Regions from separate parts of the Homo sapiens genome. Here regions 2 and 3 are each linked to region 1. The links are contacts of gene promoters, found by promoter capture Hi-C in blood cells and fetal thymus (Javierre and others, 2016). All regions are on one chromosome and are shown on one strand. The core of a region is centred on a gene start or on the middle of the fragment in contact, and the rest is flanking DNA. Distances in the headings are between cores, read along the strand shown. Region 1 holds the start of GPR83 (G protein-coupled receptor 83). Region 2 has its middle 61 kb from the start of VSTM5. Region 3 has its middle 84 kb from the start of HEPHL1.

Region 1 (3,584 bases), core at 611-3,110:
TGAGGATGAGAAAGAGAATGTGAGGGTACTTTTTCAATATAAGATTTGGAAGGATGTTCACACAGGTGATGGACTTGTGGGGGTTCATCCTGTGTTTTTTGCTTGTCTGTTATATCTGGTTGTGTATGAGAGATGGCAAGGAGACAGACAGAGAGGGATTAATAGATATTGCTTTAGTAATCACTCAAATGACAAAGTTATTCCATAAAATGAAAAAATATAACACACTAGAGAAACATGCAGTATAACTGTCACTATGGTTGCTCAGTCATCGCCCTTACAGTCCCAAATCATCCATGAGAGCCACACTCCCCGGTCACAGCGGGACACCACCAGCGCTAAGTAGCCAGGGCTTGGGGAAGAATCCCATCAGCTGCCAATGTGCAAATGCCCCCAGCCTGCCCGATTTCTGGGGCCCAAGCCCACCTCCCCTCATTTCTTCCTCAACACAGACCTCAAACACAGCCTCATTATCAACCCACAGAAGGGAAATGCACTTTAAATAAGTGGTCTGGGAAAATGCACTTAATGTTCCATTAACAATTAGCAATTGTTTGATATTTCAGTTGTAGCACAAAGCAGTATCCCATGGGTACGGCTGGGCACTGAACAGGCTGCAATTCAGAGGGAGGGGGACCTGATCATCTCTGCTGACATTTCAGGGGCATTGATTTACTGCTCAATTATCAAGCAAGCCCAGACCCAGTGAGATTAAACAGGAAATGGTCATTCATTTCCAGCTGGCTGCAGACACTCAAACCATTGACCCAATGCCACCGCCGCAGAAGCTCTGGCTGATAAGGCGATGAGACAGAAAAAAGTGGGGAGAAATCAGAGAGTGAGGCAGGGGAGAGAGGAAGAGAGGAGAGGTGGGGAGAGGAGAGGAGAGGAGAGAGAATAGAAAAATAAAATCACAGAGAGACTGACAAGAAGAAAAAGAGATAACAGGTGAGGAGACAGAGACAGATGAATAGGGAGGCTGAAAGACAAAAAAAAAAAAAAAGATGAGGACACTGAGAGATAGAGAAGAGAGACAGAAAGACTTCAGAGAGAGAGACAGAGACTGAAAGAAAGACTAAGAAAAACAGGAGAGATACAAGAACCGAGATGACAGAGGAGGGAGAAAAGAGACTAGGACAGGAAGACAGAGGCAGAGGAGAGGAGAAATGAGGAGGAAGAGAGATGTGGAGAGAGAAGTGGGGACCCACAGGGAGACGCAGAACGGCAGAGGGAGGCCAGAGAACTGAGAGAGGAAAGGGAGACGAAGACAGAAGGTGGGGCGGCAGGCAGCGGGCCCCTTACCAAAGTGAAGGGGGTGTTGAGCAGCGTGATCATTATGTCGGCAACTGCCAGGTTGACGATGAAGAGGCTGGTGGCCGAGTGCATTCGCTGGTTCTTGAAGATGACATGACAGACCAGGACGTTGCCAAAGAGTGAGAAGACAATGATGAAGGAGTAAGCCACAATGAGCAGGGCTTTCACCGTGGGGTTCTGGGACTCAGCGCCGTAGCGCCTCCTGCCCACAAAGTTCTGCCAGTCGGAGAAGGTGTAGTTGTTCCAAGAGAAGAAGTGCGAGGCATTGGGCACGGCCAGGGCCGCCTCCGCGCTCTGCTCGTCGGCCCGGCCCTCGTGGGGCTCGGTGGCTCGCACCAAGGGGAGGAGACAGAGCAGCAAGAGGTGAGGGACCATTTTGCAGGAGCCACCCCTCCCCTGGGAGCCTGCGGGCCGGGCGTCCCCTCCCGCTGGGATCGGAGCGCGCAGCCGGGGTGCGGGGCGCACAGCATACAAGGCCGTCCCGAGGAGCCAGGGAGCCCGGACGCGCGGAGCACCGCGCCGCCCGCCACCAGCCCGCGGTCGGCACGCCAGCTCCGGGTTTGTTGGAGCACTTTTATATCTCTGCTCCCACCAGGCTGCTAGGGAGCGCCTCTGCCTATTGGGCAGCGCGGCGTCTCTCGCGGCGACGGTGACGCGCTCTGGCTCTGACAAGCCTGGCTCCCCCCACCCTACCGGGTGGCGCCGTTGCTGACCCCACGCCCAGCCGTTCCCACTCCCGCCTGAAACTCCTCCGACAGGGCTTCGCTTCGGGGGCTCAGTCCCCAGCGCGTACACACTCGCGTGGTGTCGGCTTAGCCTCTTGTAAAGGAAGCAGGGCAGGCAGGTGGGAGGAAGCCCACAGGGGCACTTGGGATGATGAGGGGGCATGCTGGCAAAGCCGGGTCAGTGACAAGGATATATTCCATTTGTTTCCACCTAAGCCTTAGCCTTGGCACAGTTTCAATATCGAAATGGATCGCTGCGTCCCGGCGGTCCCAGGAAAAAGGCAAACCAAAAAATAGAGACGTTAAGGATTCTCCAAGTCCCCGGAGTATCCAGATACCAGAGGTGCTGGAGGGCTTATTAAAGGATTACAGTTTCTTTGACAGCCCCCAGGAATGCAATCTGGGGAGCTTTGTTTTTCAAGGAAACTCTTCAAAGCAGTTCGGATACCATCAAAGAAGCGAAGGAAAAGAGAAGTTTAGCTGTGTGCTCACCTCTTGGGTAACTTGAATTTTTCTGCCATGGAAGTCCTTGAAGCTATATCTTTAAGGGATATTATGACCCATGCTGTTTTTCCTTCCCCATCTACTTCTTCAGGAAACCTTGCTATCCTGCTCACCCGTTTTCACTTCCACTGTGAAAACTCTCCCAGTCACTGGGTCCTCTGCCACCCACAAGCCTGTAGTAAAGACCATGGGCTCTGTAATTAGGGTTTAATCCCAGCTTTGTCACTTCCTAGCTGTGAAATCTTGGGCAAGCCATTTAACATTTTTGGCCTTGGTTAAAAGGCTTTCTTTTCCTAAATGTGAGGTTTTCAGAGACCCCTGTATACATCTCTCACTGCATTGCCCTCTGGTGCAAGACATGCAATATCTGGTTGACTACTGGTAACCACCCCTGACCCCCAACAGGAAACACCATGTAGATTCTTTACATTGTGTCAACGTGCCCTGGGGAGCAATGTCCTTGGGCTGGGACCCAAACAATGACTCAAACCTAGGTATTACTCTTGTCTCCAGTTTTCCACTTCACATGTACTCTTCAAGCAACTGTGTCTGGAGGAAAGGATGGCTAGCAGATAACCCTCAATTATACTGAAGGACCTGGCAGGTCTCACAGGATTAAATGGCTGAAATAGGGGATTATGTGACAGATCCTAGAAGGGACAAGGTGCTAGGCCGATGAAATAATACATCTTTAGCTCCAGGAAATAAACCAAGAGACTGCCTGTAAACACTGAAAGCTTGGGGGCCGGGCGCGGTGGCTCACGCCTGCAATCCCAGCACTTTGGGAGGTCGAGGCGGGCGGATCCACGAGGTAGGAGACCGAGACCATCCTGGCTAACACGGTGAAACCCCATCTCTACTAAAAATACAAAAAATTAGCTGGGCGTGGTGGCAAGCGCCTGTAGTCCCAGCTACTCAGGAGGCTGAGGCAGGAGAATGGCGTGAACCCGGGAGGCGGAGCTTGCAGTGAGCCGAGATCGCGCCACTGCACTCCAGCCTGGGCGACAGAGCGAGACTCCGTCTCAAAAAGAAAAAAGCTTA
Region 2 (3,584 bases), core at 684-3,183, 490 kb before region 1:
TACTGAGAATCCATTGGGGAGCTTCAAGGCCAATGATTCGGAGGATTAGAGATTTTGAGCACTCTTAGATTGTAATCAACACAAGGGCAAGGACCTGAGCTGGCTTGCTCACTATTGCCCAGTGCTTAGCACAGAGTCTAATGCCCACAGGCACTCGGTAAATATTTATTACATAAATGAATGAATGGAAGACTGCTTTGGAAACTTCCTGGAAAAATGCATCGAGAATAAATAAGGCAGCTTTTTCTAATTTTTAAAAAAGTTGCAAATATTTTGGTGCTCCAAGAATGAGGGAAGCCCCAAAGACATCCATGCAGGTCTACTGTAAAAATTCACACAGCCCATTTCAGTCCTCCTCTGGCCCATCTGCAAGCTTCAACCCAAATGATCTCTTCCTAAACTGAATACCAGTTTTAAAAGGATAAGAAGGGTGTTTATTGGGTTATCAACAAAGGAGAGATTGGCCAGCTTCTGTTTGCCCACCCTAGTCCTTGGGTAGAAGGCTGTTACGGGTTTTTTCATGCTTCCCTTTGCATTGGATGTGGTTTATGGGGGACTCGGTGTTAGTGGATTTTCCTGGAGAGTATTTTTTTTGGATAGGTTAGCATATTTTATCTCCCAGGAAAACTGGAGAAAGAGTATTGAGATTCAATTTGTCATGCTAACAGGATGAAATGATATGTACTATGATAGCACAGTCTATGACAAGGACCTGAACTCTTTTTATAGTGTTTCTCCCCAATTTCTGTTCATCAAAGCAGAATCACCTCTGCCCTCACCCACTTCCCCAGCTTGTAACCTGCGAATCCAGAGGCTTCTCTCTCGTTGCCTTATTCCTTCCTAAGAGCCAGGTAGCCTACCTGTTACTCATTCAGCTACATTCTCTCACTAGGTGGGGCTGACTTGAATAAAATTATTTTTGATTAATAGTGTATTTTAATTAAAGATACATTTTACTTATTTTAATTTTAATTTTTAAATTTTTTAAATTTTTTGGGATGGAGTGCAGTGGTATGATCTTGGCTCACTGCAACCTCCGCCTACTGGGTTCAAGCAATTCTCCTGCCTCAGCTTCCCGTGTAGCTGGGATTACAGGCGCATGTCACAATGCCTGACTAATTTTTGAATTTTTAGTAGAAACAGGGTTTCACCATGTTGGCCAGGCTGGTCTGGTACTTCTGACCTCAAGTGATCCTCCTGCCTCAGCCTCCCAAAGTGCTGGGATTACAGGTGTGAGCCACTGTGCCTGGCCTAAAGACACATTTTAAATTAATGAATATTTATTGTGGTAAAATATACATAAAATTTACCATTTTAACTATTTTAAGTATGCAATTCAGTAACATGAATTATATTCACATTGTTGTACAAACATTACCGCCATCTATCTCCCAAAATTTTTCATCATCCCAAATTGAAACTCTGTACCTATTAAATGGCAACTCCCCATTGCCTTCCTTCCCCAGGCCTTGGTAATCACTATTCTACTTTATGTCTCTATGAATTTGTCTTTTAGTTAATTTTTTATCTCTCTTATCTTTAGTTTTGAATGGCTACTAGTAAGTGCCAAGCCTGGGTGAATGGTTATAAAGATCGTCCATGCTCTGGGGAGATGGGACGCCTTTTTCTGTTATCCAGGAGGGAAGATTGGGTTCAGATGACAGAAGATGGAAGAGAGAAAATAAGATGCACTGAGTAACCTCTCTGAGTTAGGCCTCGGCACACACTCTCCTACAAAGGATCTAGTGTCATATATAAGGGGCTGAGGAGGAACTTAGAATGGCAGTGTGACTTGCCCAAGGTTGAAAGTACAGAGCTGGGATTTGAACTCGTGTCTGACTCCTAGTCCAGTGCTTTTCCTTTCCTCCCCCCATCCCCCACAATAACAGTTTTATTGCATAGCAGAAAATGCATTCTTTAAAATATACATTGCAGAGCTGAGCTTTGTGGTTTGTGCCTGTGATCCCAGCTATTCAGGTGGCTGAGGCAGGAGGATCACTTGAGCCTTAGAATTCAAGGCTGTGGTGAGCTATGATTGGGCTACTGCACTCCAACAACAGAGCAGACCCTGTCTCTAAAAAAAGTGAAAATGAAAAAGGATACAATTCAGTAGTTTTTAGTGTATTAATAATTTTATGCAACTATTATCACTAACTTTAGAATATTTTCCTCACCCTAAAAAAAACCCCATACTTGTTAGCAATCAATCTCCATCCCCCGAGCATCTGGCAACCTTTCTTTCTTTTTCTTTTCTTTTCTTTTCTTTCTTTCTTTCTTTCTTTCTTTCTTTCTTTCTTTCTTTCTTTCTTTCTTTCTTTCTTTCTTTTTCCTTCCTTCCTTCCTTCCTTCCTTCCTTCCTTCCTTCCTTCCTTCCTTCTTTCTTTCCTTTTCTTTTCTTTCTTTCTTTCTTTCGAGTGCTTTACTCCCTTTTATTGCTGAATAATATTTTATTGTATGAATATATCACATTTAAAAATGTATTCATCAATTGATGAACATTTGAGTTGTTTCTGCTTTTTGGCTATTAAGAATAATGCTTCTATGAACATTTGTGTACAAGTTCCTGTGTAAACATATGTTTTTATTTATCTTGCATAGATACCTAGGAGTGGAATTGCCACTTTTATTTTGAGAAACTTCCAAACTGTTTTTCAAAGTTTTCCATCAGCAGTGTGTGAAAGTCCCGATTTCTCTGAATTCTTGCTAACATTTGTCATTGTCTGTCATTTTGATTTTAGCCATCCTGGAGGATATGAAGTATTATCTCATTGCAGTTGTGATTTTTATTTCCCTAATGGTTGATGATATTGAGCATCTTTTAATATGGTAACTGGCCACTTGTATATCTTTTTTTTTTTTTTTTGAGAGAAATGTCTATTTCCTTTGCATTTTTAAAAATTGGATTATTTGTCTTTTTATTGTTGTAAGAGTTAAAGAACTGTATTTGATTTCTGGTTACAAATTCCTTATCAGATATATGATTTGCAAATATTTTCTCCCATTCTGGGGCTTGTCCTTTCACTTTCTTGACAGTGTCCTTGGAAGCACAAAATTGTTCAATTTTGATGAAGTATAATTTATTTACTTTTTCTTTTGTTGCTTGTGCTTTTGGTCCCTTATGTAGGGAGACCATTGCCTAATCCAAGGTTACAAATATTTGCTTCTATACTTTCGTCTAAAACTTCCTAGTTTTAGCTCTTACATTTAGGTCTATAATTCCTTTTGATTTAATTTTTGTATATTATGTGAGATAGGGTTCCAGGTTCATTTTTTCTCTTACAGTCATCTAGTTGTTCCAGCACCTTTCATTGAAAAATATATTCTTTTCTCATTGAATTGTCTTGGCACCCTTGTCAAAATTAATTGGCTATACAGTAAATATAAGAGTTTATTTCTGAATTGTCAATTCTATTCCATTAATCTGTGTGTGTATCCTTACGCCAAGTTATTATAATTTTGTAGTAAGTTTTAAAATTAGAAAGTGTGAGTCATCCAAGCTTGTTTTTCTTTTTCAAGATCATTTGGGGTATTCTGGGTTCCTTGTATTTTCATGTTAATTTTAGGACCAGCCTGCTAATTTCTGC
Region 3 (3,584 bases), core at 616-3,115, 460 kb before region 1:
ATAGCATTTAGTCATTAGATTGTAAATCTCTTTGATATGTATTTGTTTGACATGTACTGTATGTAATGTGCACTCAGAAACACTTATTGCGTGATTGAATGAATATAAAACAATATTTAGTTTTCTTTGGGTAAGGCTAAACATTTACGTTACCTAAATTTCTAGTAAATGCCACCAGAATTTGTGTGTGTGTGTGTGTGTGTGTGTGTGTGTTTTAAAACTGAATTTATTTCCTTCTCCTAGACTTCTACTCTTTCTGGCTTACCTGTATTAGTAGCATCTCCAGCCAACTCCTTCTTTATCTTGCTTTCCAGTCAGCCATCACCCTTGCCAGTTCTGCTTCTGTAAGATCTGTCAGTCTCTCCAAAACCAACCACTTTACTTCCCTACTTACAACTATTGCCTCTTCACAATAAAGTCTGACATCCTTAACATCACAAGCATAGGATGGCATGGCTTTGCATGTATTCTGTGTATTGCTAGCTGGCTGAGGTGATGGAAAAACAGAGTAAAGGCATCCCATTGACTGTGGGTTGTCATTCTCTCTTGTCCTTTGGCCTCTTATGGCTAAACTGAACATTCTATAAAGGAAGAAATCCAGGCTAACAATGACAGTACAGTGTACTAAGTGCCATCGTAAAGTCAATACTGAATGTTCCACAGGAAGCAAAGAAAAAGATGCTTGACTATGATTGGCAGGGAGACGTTGGAGGAAATGATGCTCACGGCAAACCTTAAGGGATGAGCAGGAGCTTAGCAGGTGGTCAAGGTGAGAAACCGGCATTCTGGGCTGAACAAACAGCATAGTGCAGGTGTACAGAGGTGTCAGATGACAGGGTTTTATATGCCCTGCAGGTGAATCTAGATATATTCTGAGGGCAGTGAGGAATCACTGCAGGGTTTTAGAATCAGATTTATGTGCTTCAAGAATACTTTGGCAACAATTTTTTGGATGGCTTTAGCGGGGGACTGGAGGTAGAAAACCATTAGGAGACCACTGCAATAGTCCAGGCAAGAGACAAAGGGCAGAAATAATACCACTAGCTAACATTATTTTGAGCTATGTGCCAGGCACATAGTAGGTTCTCATTTTGTTTAATTTCATTTTATCCTAACATTCCTATGAGGTGGAGAAACTGAGCAGTTTGCCCACAGTCACACAGTGAGTGGTGAAGCTGAGTCAGAAATTCAGGTAATGACCCCAGAGCTTGTGGTCCAAACAGCACAGAGGATGGATTTTAGAGTGTTTAGGGACATTAAGTAATTAAAGGATAAGATCTCATTTCCCTCCCAGAACAGTCTAGCTCAGAGTCCTTAGTTTGGCTTGTGGGAGATTCATTAGGGGCCAACCCACCTTCCCTGGGGATAGAGCACGTAAGTCAGGCCATGAGGGCTGTGGCTGGGCTGGTTTGTTTCCTCTGAGCTTTGCTTGCTTTGCTCTGCTGGATTTGAATTATGAGAGTGACTGGCAGGCTGATGCCAGCATGATGCGTGAAAAACACTCTCCAAATTGGAAAGAATTTTCCTTCTGGGCTAAGCTGAGAGCACATGTTGCTCATTGGCAGATCCTGAAAATCCCAGCATTCAGAGATTTACCAGCGTTCTCTGTAAAGCAAAGCAGATGCCTCTGTGTCTGTCCTGTGAAGGGCTATGTGAGAGGAAAATGAGTTCCCATGCCTTACCTGCTCACCAACAACGTAGGTTTTAAAGGCAAAGGAACAAAAAGAGTTCAAGTTTGTATCTCCCAGATCATTTCTACCTAATAGAAATGTGAGTTAATTGTAAGCTTTAAACTTAGACACACTCATTGCCTATTAGGGGTGACTATTTTATTACACATTGTTTGTCAAAAGAGATGCATTTCTATTCCTTTTGCAGTCGAATGAGGCAGGAGCAAGGCAAGCAGGTAACCTTGCTCTTTGAGGATTCCTGCAACTGTCTGAGAAAGCTTTGGCAGTTCTGGTGTGCACGCGACTGACATGCAGGTCTCTTGAGCGTGATGACATTTTTGGGACCTACCTTCTAGAACCTACTGGATTTGCTGTGTCTTGCAGCATAAGTTCACTGCCTCTCTAACTAAATAAAAGTTAAATAAATAGTTAAAATTTAAAACTTGACAGGGTGCAGTGGCTCATGCCTGTAATCCCAGCACTTTGGGAGGCTGAGGCGGGAGGATTGCTTGAGCTCAGGAGTTTGAGACCAGCCTGAGCAACACAGAGAGACCCCATCTCTACAAAAAGTAAAAAGAAAAAAAAATTAGCTGGGCATGGTGGTGTGCACCTGTGGTCCCAGCTACTTGGGAAGCTGATGTGGGAGAATTGCTTGAGATCGAGAGGTGGAGGTTGCAGTGAGCCAATATCGTGTCACTGCACTCCAGCCTGGGTGACAGAGTGAGATCCTGTCTCAAAAAATAAAAGAATAAAAAATTAAAATTAAAATTAAAAAAATTAAAACTTACAAAAAGTTTCATTGATGGCGTTTTCATCATGTTTAAACTTCCGGATCTCAAAGAAGTTAGGTGTCTGATCAAAGCCACCTTATTTGAGAGGTCTTCCTGACCACTGAACACAAGCACCAATATTCCTTGGGCCTTCTCACACCAGTACTCTTTAACTCAGTTGTCCTTATTGATTTTTCTTCAGGACACATATCAGCACCTAATAAATATGTTGTTTGTCATCCATTTCTCCTTATAAAATAAAAACTACATGGGGGCAGGGACTTGATTTTGTTCACTGCTCTATGCTCAGTATCTAGAATGGTTCTTGGCACATAGTAGATGCTCAACAAATATTTATGGAATGATTGAATAAGTAAACTCCTAGTCTATTTCCAACAATAGTCTAATGTGTATTTAGAGTTCATGCTGATCCTCAAGTTGCATACTCAAAATCTTTGCATTTTACTCATCTCTTTCTCATATCTAGCTGACTGCTGTACATTGCAAAGTTATAGCACTTCTCACATGTGGCAGAATTTTCTTTGATTTTGAGAATCATTTGTATTGTCAAATGCCTCAGACATTAGGATGTATAGTATTTGTTCTTTCCTTATCACTTTCAACCTCCTTTTTAATGGCTACTTTTGTTTCCATTGTAAGGATGCTCTTCTTAATTGTTGTAGTAGCATTTTGGGAGGTCAAGGCAGAGGATCACAGGAGCCCAGGAGTTCGAGACCAGCCTGGGCAACATAGTCAGACCTCATCTCTGCTAAAAATTTAAAAAATTAGCTGGTCATCATGGTGCATTTCTGTAGTCCCAGTTAGTAGGTGGCTGAGGCAGGAGGAGCGCTTGAGTCTGGGAGGTCAAGGCTACAGTGAGCCATGGTTGTGCCACTGGACTCCAGCCTGGGTGACAGAGCAAGACCCTGTCTCCAGGAAAAAAAAATTAGTTATGGTAAATCCTTACAACCATCCTAGCGTAGGGAATGTGCCCTTACAATATGGTGGAGGGCAAAAGGATGCTCATACCATGTTTGGGTCAAGGGCACTTTGGCACCAGGGTTCAGCTTAGCTTTGTGTGAGTGTTCATCCATTGAAATTCACAGGTAGAAGGGCTTCTCTACTCCCAGGTCTGCCTGTGTTA

The links. The method cuts DNA at HindIII sites, captures the fragments that hold promoters and counts their contacts. A CHiCAGO score of 5 or more calls a contact.
Region 2: a contact is called between a fragment that was not itself captured here and the fragment with the promoter of GPR83 in region 1, in 3 of 17 cell types (M1 macrophages, M0 macrophages and endothelial precursors). The highest score is 7.5, in M1 macrophages.
Region 3: a fragment that was not itself captured here is called in contact with the fragment with the promoter of GPR83 in region 1 in 1 of 17 cell types (megakaryocytes); the score reaches 7.1 in megakaryocytes.

The regions. Positions count from the first base shown.
Region 1 is chr11:94,399,559-94,403,142 of GRCh38, forward strand. GPR83 (G protein-coupled receptor 83) reads right to left here and starts at 1,861. Exons shown (of 4, transcript NM_016540.4): 1 at 1,303-1,861. The coding sequence starts at 1,689. The HindIII fragment of the contact is 12,804 bases long and covers 1-3,278 here.
Region 2 is chr11:93,909,884-93,913,467 of GRCh38, forward strand. It overlaps the pseudogene LOC101060084. Among named protein-coding and RNA genes, the nearest start is that of VSTM5, 61 kb to the left of the region's middle. The HindIII fragment of the contact is 3,124 bases long and covers 372-3,495 here.
Region 3 is chr11:93,935,253-93,938,836 of GRCh38, forward strand. It overlaps the pseudogene LOC101060084. Among named protein-coding and RNA genes, the nearest start is that of HEPHL1, 84 kb to the right of the region's middle. The HindIII fragment of the contact is 162 bases long and covers 1,785-1,946 here.